2 separate regions of the Homo sapiens genome follow, and region 2 is linked to region 1. The links are contacts of gene promoters, found by promoter capture Hi-C in blood cells and fetal thymus (Javierre and others, 2016). All regions are on one chromosome and are shown on one strand. The core of a region is centred on a gene start or on the middle of the fragment in contact, and the rest is flanking DNA. Distances in the headings are between cores, read along the strand shown.

The links. Contacts are between HindIII fragments. The CHiCAGO score rates a contact against its expected background, and 5 or more counts as called.
Region 2: a contact is called between a fragment that was not itself captured here and the fragment with the promoter of EVPLL in region 1, in 10 of 17 cell types (erythroblasts, total CD4 T cells, M1 macrophages and 7 more). The highest score is 21.3, in erythroblasts.

Annotation. Positions count from the first base shown.
Region 1 is chr17:18,376,224-18,379,054 of GRCh38, reverse strand. EVPLL (envoplakin like) reads right to left here and starts at 1,277. Exons shown (of 11, transcript NM_001145127.2): 1 at 1,072-1,277. The HindIII fragment of the contact is 15,578 bases long and covers 1-2,831 here.
Region 2 is chr17:20,561,331-20,564,030 of GRCh38, reverse strand. No RefSeq gene overlaps it. Among named protein-coding and RNA genes, the nearest start is that of CDRT15L2, 17 kb to the left of the region's middle. The HindIII fragment of the contact is 4,651 bases long and covers 1-2,700 here.

The DNA of each region.
Region 1 (2,831 bases), core at 28-2,527:
AGGCTAGAGTGCAGTTGAGTGATCACGGCTCACTGCAGCCTCGACTTCCCGGGCTCAAGTGATCCTCTCACCTCAGCCTCCCAAGTAGCTCTGACTACAGGCATGCACCACTACATCCAGATAATTTTTGTATATTTTTTATAGAGATGGGATTTCGTCATGTTGCCCAGGCTGGTCTCCAACTCCTGGGCTCAAGTCATCCACCCGCCTCAGCCTCCCAAAGTGGTAGGATTGCAGGCATGAGGTATTGCACCAGGATTTTTTTTTTTTTTAAAGACAGAGTCACAGTCTGTCACCCAGGCAGGAGCGCAGTGGTGTGATCATGGCTCACTGAAGCCTCAAACTCCTGGGCTCAAGCAATAGGCATGAGCCACCATACCTGGCTGTTTTTTATTTTTATTTTTTTTATAGAAACAAGATCTCCCTATGTTGCCCAGGCTGGTCTCAAACTCCTGGGCTCAAGGAATCCTCCCGCATTGGCCTCCTAAAGTCAGGGATTATAGGCGTGAGCTACCGCGCCCAGCCATGAACCCCTAACTCTTCAATACAACAAGGCCCTGGGTGAGAGCTCTGGGGAGGGCTCTGGCTTAGGCAGGAGGCAGCACAGCCCCTGCATCCCTACCCCAGGGATCCCACCCCACCCCCTCAGTCCTCATGCCCTGCACCCAGGCTCCAGGGGTCATCCCAGCCAAGTAGAGCCTTGGGGCAGAGCTGCAGTCACACAACCAGGCTCTCCTGTGTCCCAGCCTCTGGCAGAGGAGGGCATCAGTGCAGGCTCCTGTCCGGCACTTCTCCCGCTGAGCAGCATCAATCTGTGGCCCACAGGCCCCCTTAGAGGATGTAGGGAGCCCCAGGCCATCCCCTGCCTCCTGCCAGGGCTGAAGTTCGGCCTGGGCCTGCGGCTCCCAAGGCAGGGAGAGAGTCCACCCCTGGGCCCTTTGTCCTCGGGACACCAAATGCCAGCACGGGGCTGGTCCTGGGCTCTGGGCCGCCGCCAGGTGGCTCAAGGACCTGGGCCTGGCACCACCCCCACCCTAGCTCCCTGGCTCCCCATCCCCTAGTCCCACTCACCAGCTGTGCTTGCTGGGGGAGCCTTTGGGGGACCCCTTGGCTGGGGAGTCCTTGGGGGACCCCTTCCCCTGGGAGCCTTTGCTCAGTCCCTTGAACATGGTCATAAAGGCAGGTGCTGGCTCAGGCTGGGCTTGGCTGGTGAAGGAGGGCAGGAGGGCAGGTGGGAGGCAGCGGGCGTCCTTGCTGGCTGGTCAGCTAAGTCTGGCAAGGTGGGGCGGCTGGGCATTGGGGAAGGGAGTTTCTGGGAGGCCCCTCCTTGCAGGTGAGGCAGCAGGCGGCCAGGCCCCAGGCCTGCCGCGCATGCACCCACAAAAACCACACTCATGCCTGCTCTTGCATAACCAGTCTGGGAGGAAAGGGCACAGCCTTGAGGGTGGGGCCGAGCCTGCCCGACTCCCACAGAAGGTTTGGACTTGTTACACCCACATGCCCAGGGGAGCGCGGTGGCGATTACACCCAGATAGGGAAGGAGCTGGGCCAGGACAGATGGGTCTGGAGACAGACGTGCACATGCAGGCGCAGGCTCAGCGGAGAGGCCCCAGCTCTGGAGCTCAGGATTAATAAACATCTCCAGCCAGCTCAGAGGCCCTGCTGCCAGGCTGGCCCCCACCCACAGCTCTCAATCCCCCAGGAGAGGAGGGGGTGTCCTGCCAGCCCAGGGCCTGGCTCTGTGTTCTCCACTGACATGATGGGGCAGCCAGGGGACGTTCACTCCAGACAACTGGCACAAGGTCCATTTTTTTTTTTTTTAAGAGACAAAGTCTTGCTCTGTCACCCAGGCTGGAGTGCAAAGGCACGATCTCGGCTCACTGCAACCTCTGCCTGCCGGGTTCAAGCGATTCTCCTGCCTCAGCCTCCCAAGTAGCTGGGATTACAGGTGTCCGTCACCACGCCCAGAAAATTTTTGTATTTTTAGCAGAGAAGGGGATTCACCATGTTGGCCAGGCTGGTCTGGAACTCCTGACCTCAAGTGATCCACCCGCCTTGGCCTCCCAAAGTGCTGGGATTACAGGCATGAGCCACCATGCCCGGCCCCATTTTATAAAGTGTGCACAGTGCAGCAGCACCAGGGCTGGCTTCAGGTGCCACTAAGCCTGGGCTCTGGCTGAGGCCCGGGAGCCCGATGCACTTGGCTTTTCCTACCTGCCTCTTCCCCCACCCAGAAATGGCCCCTGGTGGCTTTTATGAAGTCAGATTGAGTGGCAGAGAGTGATGCCAGCTTATTGGTCTTTTCCTCACACTGGGGACCAGGGCTGCTGCCTTTTCCTTCTGTGGTGACCCTCAGCGTCTTCAAGAAAGGGGCGATGGGACCCCCCTTTCCAGGCGCTCATTTTACTGGCCCAGCGTAACAGGCCCCTTCTGCAGAGGTGGCGTCGCTTTCCAGGTCATTCCTGAAATCCCCGTGGTTTTAGTGGAAGGAGGGCTTGAGGGGGAGCCAGGGGATGGAACAGGCGGACTGGGTGACATCACCTGGTCATCCTGGCAGGCCTCGCTGAGGACAAAACAGCCTGGCAGGAGAGAAAGGTCCCAGCAGATGGGGGAGACCAGGGACCGACACCTGATACTGGCCTCAGGCCCCCATGGGATAGAAAAGGCCTGTGCCCTTTTTGGGTGAATCTCATGGGAAGCTCCTGAACTCGGCCATGGAGAGGGGATGCAGTAAACCCCCATTCCTAGAGGTGGAGGAGCTGACAGGGGCAGTGGGGGTGGGGAGGGCAGCAGAGGCCCCTGACAGCAATGAGGAAACAAAGTGGTCTCCA
Region 2 (2,700 bases), core at 26-2,525, 2.2 Mb before region 1:
CGCCTGCCTCGGCCTCCCAAAGTGCTGGGATTACAGATGTGAGCCACCGTGCCCGGCCGCTAAACTCTTAATTTTCAATTACTCCAATTGCTTGAAACTCAAATAGCCATATGGGGCTAGTGGCCACCATTTGGACAGAGTGACTCCAACATTCCATGTGGTGTAATTTTATTTGCTAGCCTTTAGCATCATGTAATGTGATCTTCTTCACTTGTTTTCTGTCTCTGTGACCAGAGCATCAGCTCCTTGAGGTGGGGATTGGTTTGTCTTGTCCACTGCTGTATGCTGGGGCTAGAAGTGGGCCTGGCATATAGTAGAGGCTCCATATGTAATTGCCGAATGAATGCATGAGTAAATGAATGACTCCTGGGGACCATGAACTCTGAATTTCTCCAAAAGGAATGCTAGTTCTGCCAGGGATTGCTGCTCTGTGACCTCAAGTCAGGATCTTGCCCTCTCTGGGCTCAGCATCCTGACCAAGGGGCACTGGGGCCCCTCTGGTCCTGAGGCTCTGAGACTTACTGCTGCTTCCTCTGTCCTTTTGGGAGAAAAGCTGAGTGTTGGGAGAGAAGCTGAGGCAGGGCTTGCATGTCTGCTAGACTTGCTAGCTCTTGCTTCTAGCACTCCCATTATCTCAAGTAGCCACATGTTTCAAAGAAAATGCTACACCATCGCAGCTGTAGCTCACTCACTTGATACATTGCTTCCTTTAAACCCCCACATCCTCACCATGTGTTTCTTTGTTTGAGCACCAGTAAATAGCCTGGGCTCCCAGAGCTCAGGGCCTTTGCAGCCTCCATACTAGTGTTGGCCCCCTGGTCCCACTTTATTTCCTGTCTTTTCTCATTCCTATGACTCCGCTGGACTTCGAAGCCCCCATGGCCTGATGTTGGGTCTGATCACCCCAACCTGCCCAAGCTGCCCTTATCTATCCTTCTTACCCGAGGCCCACCTCCTGCCTCCCAGCCATGTCATAGGAAGGGGGCCAGATGGGCTTCCTGTCCCCAGAGCCTGTGTCTAGGAAGTCATCACAGCAGGCTGCCTGTGCCCATCTCCTAGCAATAAATGGCCTTAGGAAGTATTTGGGGGTGGGATAAAGTGGTGATCACTGTGGGGCTGTGTCCCAAATCAACACCTCTCCAGCTGGCCAAGGGCAAGTGTTTCCCAGGAGCCAGGCCAGGGCAGGCTGGCGGTTGTGGCATGTGCACCAGGAGTCAGCTCCAGGGTCCTCCAAGCCTGGGCCCTGCAGTCGGCCACCCTCACCCTCTCATGCCTGTGCTTGGGGTTAAGAGGTGGCAAGGGGTGCTTGGGCCCTACATGCTTCTTGTGGGGGCCTGTAGGAACCAGGCATGAGGAAGTGAAGAGCAGGTGCTGACTGTGAGTGACTCTAACCCTGACTGCCCCAGCATCCAACACTCGCACACATGCACATGTGCCTACTCACCTGGACACAACACAGCTATGCATGCTGACACGAACTTGCTCGGAGGCATGGGCACAGACACACACTTACTTGTTTTTGTTTTTATTATTTTGAGATGGAGTCTTGCTCTGTCACCAGGCTGGAGTGCAGTGGCATGATCTCAGCTCACTGCCACCTTTGCCTCCCGGGTTCAAGCGATTCTCCTGCCTGAGTCTCCTGAGTAGCTGGGACTACACACAGGAACCACCACACCCAGCTAATTTTTGTATTTTTAGTAGAGACAGAGTTTCATCACATTGGCCAGGATGGTCTCCATCTCTTGACCTCGTGATCCACCCACCTTGGTCTCCCAAAGTGTTGGGATTACAGGAATGAGCCACCGTGCTGAGCCATTTTGTGTGTTATTTTTATAATTTTTATGTTTAGAGAGGGATCTTGCTCTCTTCCCCATGTTGGATTGCAGTGGTGGTATCCTAGTGCACCGCAGCCTCAACCTCCTGAACCCAAGCGAGACTCCCTCCACAGCCCTGCCAGTAGCCAAGAATACAGGCCTACACCACCATGCCTGGCATTTAAACAATTTTTTTGTACAGATGAGGTCTTGCTATGTTGCCCAGGCTGATCTCAAACTCCTGGGCTCAAGTGATCCTCCTACCTCAGCCTCCCAAAGTCCTGGCATTAAAGGGATAAGCCATTATGCTCGGCCCTGTCTATTCATTAGATTTGAATTGCAAATCTTCAAAGTCCATCCATATTTGCAGGAAGTATAAGTATTCCATTCATTTTAATAACTGAATAGTATCCCCCTGTGCACATATAATACATGTTGCTCATTTATTCTTCTGTTGATGAACAATTGGGCTGTTTCTACCTTTTGGCTATTGTGAATATGCTGCTCTGAATGTTGGGACACAAGTATCTGTTTTTTTAAAAATTGTGTTTTATTTTTTGATAAGTTATTGGGGTACAGGTGGTATTTGGCTACATGAATAAGTTCTTTAGTGGTGATTTCTGAGATTTTGGTGCACTCATCACCAGAACAGTATACACTGCACCATATTTGTTGTCTTTTATCCCTCGCCCCCACCTTCCAATCTTCCCCCCAAGTCCCCAATGTCCATTGTATCATTCTTATGCCTTTGCATCCTCATAGTTTTGCTCCCACATATCAGTGAGAACATATGATGTTTGGTTTTCCGTTCCTGAGTTCAAGTACCTGTTTGCAACCCTGCTGTCAGGGGTTTTGGACATCTACTTAGGAGTGGAATTGCTGGGTC